Regions from separate parts of the Homo sapiens genome. Here region 1 is linked to region 2. The links are contacts of gene promoters, found by promoter capture Hi-C in blood cells and fetal thymus (Javierre and others, 2016). All regions are on one chromosome and are shown on one strand. The core of a region is centred on a gene start or on the middle of the fragment in contact, and the rest is flanking DNA. Distances in the headings are between cores, read along the strand shown. Region 1 overlaps NSD2 (nuclear receptor binding SET domain protein 2). Region 2 holds the start of TMEM129 (transmembrane protein 129, E3 ubiquitin ligase).

Evidence for each region. The method cuts DNA at HindIII sites, captures the fragments that hold promoters and counts their contacts. A CHiCAGO score of 5 or more calls a contact.
Region 1: a fragment that was not itself captured here is called in contact with the fragment with the promoter of TMEM129 in region 2 in 10 of 17 cell types (activated CD4 T cells, naive CD8 T cells, total CD4 T cells and 7 more); the score reaches 7.2 in activated CD4 T cells.

Annotation. Positions count from the first base shown.
Region 1 is chr4:1,900,759-1,905,207 of GRCh38, forward strand. NSD2 (nuclear receptor binding SET domain protein 2) reads left to right here. Exons shown (of 22, transcript NM_001042424.3): 2 at 1-493; 3 at 3,458-3,620. Among named protein-coding and RNA genes, the nearest start is that of NSD2, 32 kb to the left of the region's middle. The HindIII fragment of the contact is 3,262 bases long and covers 768-4,029 here.
Region 2 is chr4:1,719,087-1,723,634 of GRCh38, forward strand. It overlaps TMEM129 (transmembrane protein 129, E3 ubiquitin ligase), which reads right to left and starts at 2,237. Exons shown (of 4, transcript NM_001127266.2): 1 at 1,547-2,237. The coding sequence starts at 1,751. It overlaps TACC3 (transforming acidic coiled-coil containing protein 3), which reads left to right and starts at 2,435. Exons shown (of 16, transcript NM_006342.3): 1 at 2,435-2,557; 2 at 4,335-4,497. The coding sequence starts at 4,336. RefSeq lists enhancers at 368-447, 1,088-1,187, 2,270-3,265 and silencers at 1,778-1,827, 1,838-2,647. The HindIII fragment of the contact is 17,725 bases long and covers 477-4,548 here.

The DNA.
Region 1 (4,449 bases), core at 1,149-3,648, 180 kb after region 2:
TCCGAGCTGCGAGGTGAACCGCGAGTGTTCTGTGTTCCTCAGCAAAGCCCAGCTCTCCAGTAGCCTGCAGGAGGGGGTCATGCAGAAGTTTAACGGCCACGACGCCCTGCCCTTTATTCCAGCCGACAAGCTGAAAGATCTTACTTCCCGGGTGTTTAATGGAGAACCCGGCGCACACGATGCCAAACTGCGTTTTGAGTCCCAGGAAATGAAAGGGATTGGGACACCCCCTAACACTACCCCTATCAAAAATGGCTCTCCAGAAATTAAGCTGAAAATCACCAAAACATACATGAATGGGAAGCCTCTCTTTGAATCTTCCATTTGTGGTGACAGTGCTGCTGATGTGTCTCAGTCAGAAGAAAATGGACAAAAACCAGAAAACAAGGCGAGAAGGAACAGGAAGAGGAGCATAAAATATGACTCCTTGCTGGAGCAGGGCCTTGTCGAAGCAGCTCTTGTGTCTAAGATCTCAAGTCCTTCAGATAAAAAGGTATTTAGGAGACGTTGTGTAAGGGGTCATGTGACCTTGAGCAGTGAGCATGGCCACCCTATGAGGGCACCTGCACGAGTACTGGGGCGGGCGGAGAAGGTGAGGACAGGCCTGGTACTTCCAGCCACTTGCCTGAGCCCTGGCTTTGGGTTGGAGGGTGGGCTCCAGGATGCCCTGGCACTGCCTCCTCAGTTCTCAGCTGGCTGCTGAGCCAGTTGAGAGGTCTAGAGAGGTGAGCTAAGTGTTCAAGATTCAAATGGCTAAAAAGAGGCAAAGCTTGTTTCTTAACGTGGTTCTGCCAGTTTCAGAGCCCTTGCTTGACAACGTCAGGCTACACTCTTTTCATGGATCTCATCTCCAAGGTGTTCTTTAGCCTGATGTGGTCAGTGGAGACAGGCTGGGCTCTAGAGTGTGACTTCTTAAGTCTGCACCATCTGATGAGTGGGAAGCAGAGCTGTGCAGAGGTGCTCCCGCTGTCCTTACCCTGTGGTCCAGTGTCCACTTACTGTCTCCTCAGCCAGGTGGTCCAGCAGATGGCCTGCCTCCCTGAGGCCTAGGGATGTGTCTTTTGCCTCCTGTTCTTGGTTCCCAGTGCAGAGCCCAGCACACTGAACACAAGCGAATGAGTGTTTCCTTATCCTAACTTGCGATGGAAAGGTGTGGTGGTGCTGCTCCATTCTGCCTGGTGATGGTGTCTCCACGCCTTCACGTGGCACTCGGGATGGCCCTGACACTCGGATGAGTATAAGCCATAGGAAACAACCAAGGGGCCATGGCTTTGGCAGAAGGAAGGAACTCTTGATGGGGCAGCAGTCTCTGTTCATCTGGTGGTCTATAGGGTGTTGCTTTTTAGTTGTAACTCCTTGAAATTGTTAAAATAATGAAGAGCTTTGAGGGTTAAAAAAACGTTTTTTGATTACTCAGGAGCTGTTTAGTTCTCGCTCATGTAATGGCAGTGGTGAAGTTTTTAAATTTTATTTATTTATTTATTTATTTTGAGATGGTCTCTGTTGTCCAGGCTAGAGGGCAGTGGTGTGATCATGGCTCACAACAGCCTTGACCTCCCAGGCTTAGGTGATCCTCCTACCTCACCCTCCTGAGTAGTTGGACCACAGGTGTGCACCACTATATGCCCAGTTAATTTTTTATTTTTTGTAGGACAGGGTCTTGCTGTGTTGCCCAGGCTGGTCTCAAACCCCTGGGCTCAAACGATCCTCCCACCTCTGCCTCCTGAAGTGCTCGAGTTACAGGTATGAGCTACCATGCCCAGCCTACAAAGATTTTTTGAAGTGCCCACAGCAGTATTGAACCTCATGCTTTTGCTTGGGAAGAGGCCTGTGCAAGTTGTCAGAGTCCTAGCTGTTTTGTTTTGAGACAGGGTCTTGGTATGTTGCACAGGCTGTTCACGAACTCCTGACCTCAAACGATGTTCCTGCATCAGAGCTGGCTTTTTCTTTCTCCTCCAACTGAAAAACAAACCAAACAAAAAAATCTGGCTTTTATTCCTAGCCATGTCCCTTGGTTTTGTTAAAACTTGAGTAACTCAACCTGAATTTTGACTCTTCCTCTGGAGAGTGGGGTCAATAAATGTAAACCTGGGTTGCTGTGCAGTAATCTGGTAGCTGTTCTGAAAGTATGTCAGGCCTGATGGGGTGGCTCACATCTGTAATCCCAGCACTTTGGGAGGCTGAGGCAGGAAGATTGCTTGAGCCCAGGAGTTCAAGACTAGCCTGGGCAACATAGCGAGACCCGGTCTCTATAAAAAATAAAATTAGCTGGGCGTGGTGGCACTGCCTGTGGTCCCAGCTACTAGGGAGGCTGAGATGGGAGGATCAAAAAAACATGAAAATGTGTCATGTGGCAGCTCATGCCAGGCTTCACCAGCATGCTTATGGCAAGGTTTTGGGCCGGCCTCTTCAGCTTACAGGTGAGAAAACTGAGGCCTGAGGCAGTGGAACAATTTACTCATGTGTATAGTGCTCTTGAGCAAGGCTAGAGATTCACCCTTGGAGGGTTGGGGCCATGCTGGCTGTGCTTATTTCCACTGGAGAGCAGAACTGTGAGTGGCTTGTGGGGAGGAGTTTTTCTTTGGTGGAATGTTCAGCCTTAACCTACCCATTATGTTCTAGAGATGGAGAAATTGAGGCTCAGAGAGCCCCAAGGACTCAAATTACATGTGATGGAGCCGAGACTTGCTCCTAGTCCTCCTGGTGCCCTTGCCCTCACCACACTGGGATGGTTCATGTTGGTGACACATGGGCTGCTGAGAACTGATCGTCAGACATGACTGGAGGGGCAGAAGTCAGTATGGATTTGGAATTCTGTGAGAATTCCTTTTCGACCAGTTGAATAAAGTACCATTAAAGACCGTCTATTAATACTAGGCCAAGGAAATAGATTTATATAGAGATCTTCAAAATGTTGAACACCTGCTGTGTGCTATGCACTGTCCTGATCCTTTAGCTGAGAGTGAGAGAGAAATTTTTTTTTTTTTTTTTTTTGAGATGGAGTCTCGCCCTGTCGCCCAGGCTGGAGTGCAGTGGCGTGATCTCGGCTCACTGCAAGCTCCGCCTCCCGGGTTCACGCCATTCTCCTGCCTCAGCTTCCTGAGTAGCTGGGATTACAGGCGCCTGCCACCACGCCCGGCTAATTTTTTGTATTTTTAGTAGAGACAGGGTTTCATTGTGTTAGCCAGGATGGTCTTGATCTCCTGAACTCGTGATCCGCCCACGTTGGCCTCCCAAAGTGCTGGGACTACAGGCGTGAGCCACCGCACCTGGCCTGAGAGACAAAATTTTGATGAAACGATGTTGAGGCTATCATCTAAAACACAGCAAGGGAGCACACTCCATTTTTGGGGGTCTGTGTGTATTTGGACATTGTAGCCTGGTGAATCCTTGGTCTTCTGGATACACAGGTAGTGATTGGATGTGTTAGTGTTTGTCTTCTGTTGTTCATTTTCAGATTCCAGCTAAGAAAGAGTCTTGTCCAAACACTGGAAGAGACAAAGACCACCTGTTGAAATACAACGTTGGTGATTTGGTGTGGTCCAAAGTGTCGGGTTACCCTTGGTGGCCTTGCATGGTTTCTGCAGATCCACTCCTTCACAGCTATACCAAACTTAAAGGTATTGTGTTCTTTGGGTTGTTTTTCCAACTTTCTCTTCTGCACTTAATCTTTCTCATCTCCAGGCTTCTTTCTTACTCTTTCTAAATAGCCCTGCTATGGTTCATTTTTGCAGCTTTACCTAAAGTTAGTGATTGATTCAAGTGTGATGTGTTGCCATTTCTTTTTATATTCAACTCAAATATGTACTTCATCTGATTGAATTAGTGTTAAGGGACACATGACCTTTGCCTTGTATAACTTCTGTTTTTATGATAGTTTATTATTTAGTTACGATGATTGCTTGTTTCAGGATGATTTGCAGCAAGAGTGTTTTATGCTAAGTTTAAGTTGTAAAAATGTCCAAGTGAATTTTATTAGGCCTATGGGAAGAATGGAAAACACTGGAAGTGATCATCTTTGTCTTATGAAGCTTGGGTAGATAAATTGATTTTTACATGGAGCGGCTGATGTAACATATTAAGAATGTACGGCCGGGCACGGTGGCTCACGCCTGTAATCCCAACACTTTGGGAGGCCGAGGTGGGTGGATCACTTGAGGTCAGGAGTTCGAGACTAGCCTGACCAACATGGTCAAACCGCGTCTCTACTAAAAATACAAAATTAGCCGGACGTGGTGGTGCACGCCTGTAATCCCAGCTACTCAGGAGGCTGAGGCAGGAGAATCGCTAGAACCCGGGAGGTGGAGGTTGCAGTGAGCCGAGATCGCGCCATTGCACTCTAGTCTGGGCAACAACAGCGAAACTCTGTCTCACAAAAAAAAAAAGAATGTTATATGTCCCTGATACAGAGCAAATAATGGTTGGTCAACCCATAAATGTGTTTTTAGA
Region 2 (4,548 bases), core at 987-3,486:
ACACGGAGCCAGCTTCAGGGCCCTGCTGGCCAGATCGAGGACAATTTGAAGGTCCAAATAAGCCATGGAGATGGTGAGGAGTTGCACCAGCAGGTTCCAGTTGGCAAAAAGTAATAGTCCACATTTGGAGTTGGCCCAGTCACTGCATTTCAAGGTAACATGACATATAACAATAGGTAACTAGGGGCCGGGTGCAGTGGCTCACACCTGTAATCCCAGCACTTTGGGAAGCCGAGGCGGACGGATCACGAGGTCAGATCGAGACCATCCTGGCTAACACGGTGAAACCCCATCTCCACTAAAAAATACAAAAAATTAGCCGGGCGTGGTGGCGGGCGCCTGTAGTCCCAGCTACTCAGGAGGCCGAAGTTGCAGTGAGCCGAGATCATGCCACTGCACTCCAGCCTGGGTGACAGAGCGAGGCTCCGTCTCAAAAAGTAAAAATAAAAATAAAACAGGTAACTAATACCTAATAAAGCTTGAAAACTTTCAAACTAAGTTAAAAATAAAAAGAGCTTGACATCCGACTGTGAGGCCAGCTGTGCTGTCTGCTCCAGGTGTGGCTGCCACAATTCACTTGTGGTCCCTCATAGGCCTCTGGGGAGGGTGCAGCTGGAAGGGCTACAGAAACCCACCCAGTAGCCCTAGAAAGTGGCCTGGTCAGGGCCCCAGCCCCACTCAGCCCCATCCATCTCTCAAGTGGGCCCCCAGCCCACCCTCTCCATGAGGCAGGCCTGGGCGCCTCCACCCGACACCTGCCTCCAGTTCTTCTGGGCCCAGGCAGCTGCATCCTCAAACCAGGATGTGGAGGGTCACCCCTCTTGTATCCCCAGAGTGGCAAACCTGGCCAGCCACTGGCCATCTGTCCTCCCAGGGCTGCGTCTGCCCCCGTGTCCTCCAGAGGTACCCCCTTGAAATCCCCCTCCAGCCACTGCACACCCCACCTCCCACCTGTCCGTCATCCAATCAGCTGAGAGAGGGACCTTCCAGAGCCCCAGCTAGCACCTGGGGCCCAGCCCAGCACCCCCCTGGACAACTCTGAGCGTCCCACCTGCACTGCACAGAGGCCCTCCCCAGCCTCTGCCCCTGTGGCGCCCCCAAACTGGAACTGCCTCCAAATCCGCCTGTTCTCTCCACACCCACCTTCCAAGGCCTAGTGCAGTGCCACCCTCCACACAGCCCCTCCGACCCCTTCCGTTGGACTCAATCAACAGTTGCCTTCTCCTGGCCACTGCCCCCAACCACGACAAGCAAGGGCTGCTTGGCCTTGCAACCCCCAGGCACGTGACGGTTCAGGACTTGGTGGGCCGGAGCATCCCTTGCCCAAGGTTCTGAACTTGGGTTCCCGTCACCTGCAAGTCAGTGCCGGCGGCGCCCCTAAGCGCGCTCAGCCCACGCCGCGGTCCCTCTGGATGAGGACCGGCGCCTCTCCCCAGCTGCGCCCAGGCGCTTTCGGGGCCTCGGGGAGCTGGCGGAGGCCTCCTCCTGACCTCCCAGCAAGCCCTGCGCAGGAGAGGATGCGGCCGGCCGGCCCGAGCAGCCTCACCGAGCGGCAGCAGCGAGTGGCACAACAGCGTGGCGGCCGTGCGGCGCAAGTGGAAGGGCACGAAGGCGGCGTCCTCGCTGCCCAGCCAGCCCGACAGCAGGTTCTGCACCGTGAGCCCCGCCGCGTGGAACTCGTTGGGCGTGAACACGAAGCACACGGCGAACACCAGATAGGCGAGAGTGAAGGTCACCTCGGGGCTGTCCATCGCGCAGCCGCCGGGAAGCTGTCGAGCTAGGCCCCCGCCCCGGCGCGCGGACGAGGCCGCAGCGCCCAGTCCCGGACCTGTCGGTTGCGGCGGCCGCCGCCCGGCCGCCCGCGGGGCACTCTAGGACATGGAGTCCCGCCGCCCGGCCGCCCGCGGGGCACTCTAGGACATGGAGTCCCGCCGCCCGGCCGCCCGCGGGGCACTCTAGGACATGGAGTCCCGCCGCCCGGCCGCCCGCGGGGCACTCTAGGGCATGGAGTCCCGCCGCTCGGCCGCTCGCGGGGCGCTCTGGGAGATGCAGTCCCCGTGCGGGTGCGGCCTCTCTTCTCGGCCGGCCCTGGAGGCGGCACCGCACCTGTGCATTGAGCACAGGTGGGGAAACTTAGGCCTGAGCGAGGCCCTGGCCATGAAGCCCCGCCCAGTAGCGTCAGTTGCGGAACTCGAAATTCATGGGGCGACTGCGAGCCCGGGGTCTCAGCTTCAGACACCCTGGCGTGCCCTCCACTCCGGAAACGGAACCGTCGGCGCCCGAGCGGGGGGTGGGGGGGGAGGGAGGGCGGAGCCGGCGAGGCACAGCTTCCCATTGGACGCCCGCCCTCCTGCGGTCCTGCCCCCGGCCGCGCGCTGATTGGCCGCGCGAAGGCAACCGTCGGCGTTTGAAACTCCGGCGCGCCGGCGGCCATCAAGGGCTAGAAGCGCGACGGCGGTAGCAGCTAGGCTTGGCCCCCGGCGTGGAGCAGACGCGGACCCCTCCTTCCTGGCGGCGGCGGCGCGGGCTCAGAGCCCGGCAACGGGCGGGCGGGCAGGTAGGAGAGCGGCTACACGGCGCGGGGAGGCTGGGGTCCTGGGGGCGCGAGGCCGTCCCGCCCCGCCCCGCCCTCGGCCCTCGCCCTCCCGCCCCGGCCGCCGCTTTCCCCGGGAAGCGTCCCCCACGGCTCCTCCTGGGGCCGCCGCCAGAACCTGTACCGCGCCCTGTCATGGGACCCGGCCCTAGACCGACCGCCGGGCTGGGCCCCCTGGATGGTGGCCAGGGGCGGCTAGAGCTGGGCCAAGACCGACGGCGGAGCGGGCGCCCCGAGGTGCTTTGCTCTCCTCGACCCTCTCCTGTCTCTCGGTCGCCCACCTTGGCTCTTTGTTGGCTCCCAGCACGCGGACCCTCCTGTTGTTCTTTGGTCCCTTCCGGCCTCCGTCCTGGGGCCAACTCCATCTAGGCCGCCTGCGGCGGACACCTGGGCCCCTACCGCTTCCCCGCACCTGCTGCGCCGCTCCACCTTCCCCCCGCACCGCATCCCTCTTGTGCACCAGAGTAGCACCAAAGCACCAGCCTGGGGCCGGTCCCTTCTCTGCCCAGAGCCCCTCCCGGGCCTCCATAGTCAGTAAAGGCCCCTCCTGACTAAGGCTGGGTCTGCTGCTCTCCCGAGCTCCTCCAGGCCGCCAGAAGGCTTCCTCCGAGTCACTTTCTCCCTGAGTTCGAGGCTTGCGGGTCCCCCAGCGATCCAGCACCCCTTCCCCTGCCCTGTACCCAGTTATTCAGGGCGAAAACCTAAGCGTCGTCCGTAAGTCCCATATGTGCCAGTGGCCAGGCCCGGGTCTGGTCTGGCATCTACTCCTTGGGCTCCAGAAGCCTGTGGTTTCCCTGCTTCCCTTCTGCTCTTAACCTCCCCACCCACACACAGCACCACAGTGGGCTTCTCAAGCTGCAGCACCGACCTGCCGGGGCTGCCCCCTCTCTCTTCTCCAGGACCCTCCCCAACTTTGCTCTTCTTCAAATCAAAGCCTCCCCAGGTCCCCCTCCACCACCAGGTGCCTGTGGGGTTCCTGCCCTGGTCGACACTCGGTTCTCTCTGGCAGCCTTTTTCCCTACGTCATTCCCTAGACTGGGAACGCTGTAGACAGAAAGGGTGGCAAGTGTGTGGGTGACCGGCGTGAGGACCTGGGCAGCCCTGGAACCTGGGACTGACTGGAGGCTCTGATGTGGAAGTTCCTTGGCACCTGTTGCTCAGCTCTGGGCTTCCCTTGTTTGCGCATCGTCTCCCAGCTCCTCCTCTGGGCCTTCACCCTCTCAGCCTGGTCTTGTCCCGCTGCCTAGCCCGGTGGGAGAGAGCAGACCAGAGCCGCTGTCCTGCTTTTCTGCCCTCTACTGCCCGGTCCTGCCTCACGTCACACGCAGAGGCCTGTGGGGAGACCAGGGCTTCCTCTGGCTCATCCGGGTTTCTTATTGGCCCGGGCTTTTCCGTCTCTTGACTTCTGCTTGATATAGTAATACAGCAGTAGAGATTATGCAGGCTTGGGTTTTCTTTCTCACCATCTCAGCCTGAAGGCCCTTTAGCTCTTGGTCCCAGGAAGCAGCAGTGCTGCCCATGGCTCCCCCTGCCAGGCTGGAGAGTGAGTCTCTGAAGCAAGATGGGGACTCAGTCTGAGGCTTTCTCTGCCAAGAGACACGTGTGGGAGGTGTGAGTTCCAGAGCAATGAGCACACCTGTGTGGGAAGTGGTCGTGCCCCTTGCAGCAGCTGTCACGTCTGTGTCTGGACAATGTGGTAGTGTTGCCCTCACACTGACACAAACATGTTCTGCTTTTCCAGAATGAGTCTGCAGGTCTTAAACGACAAAAATGTCAGCAATGAAAAAAATACAGAAAATTGCGACTTCCTGTTTTCGCCACCAGAAGTTACCGGAAGATCGTCTGTTCTTCGTGTGTCACAGAAAGAAAATGTGCCACCCAAGAACCTGGCCAAAGCTATGAAGGTAAGTGTGACCTGTACAGTGTGTGGCTGGCCAGGTTGCCCTAGGGCCTGC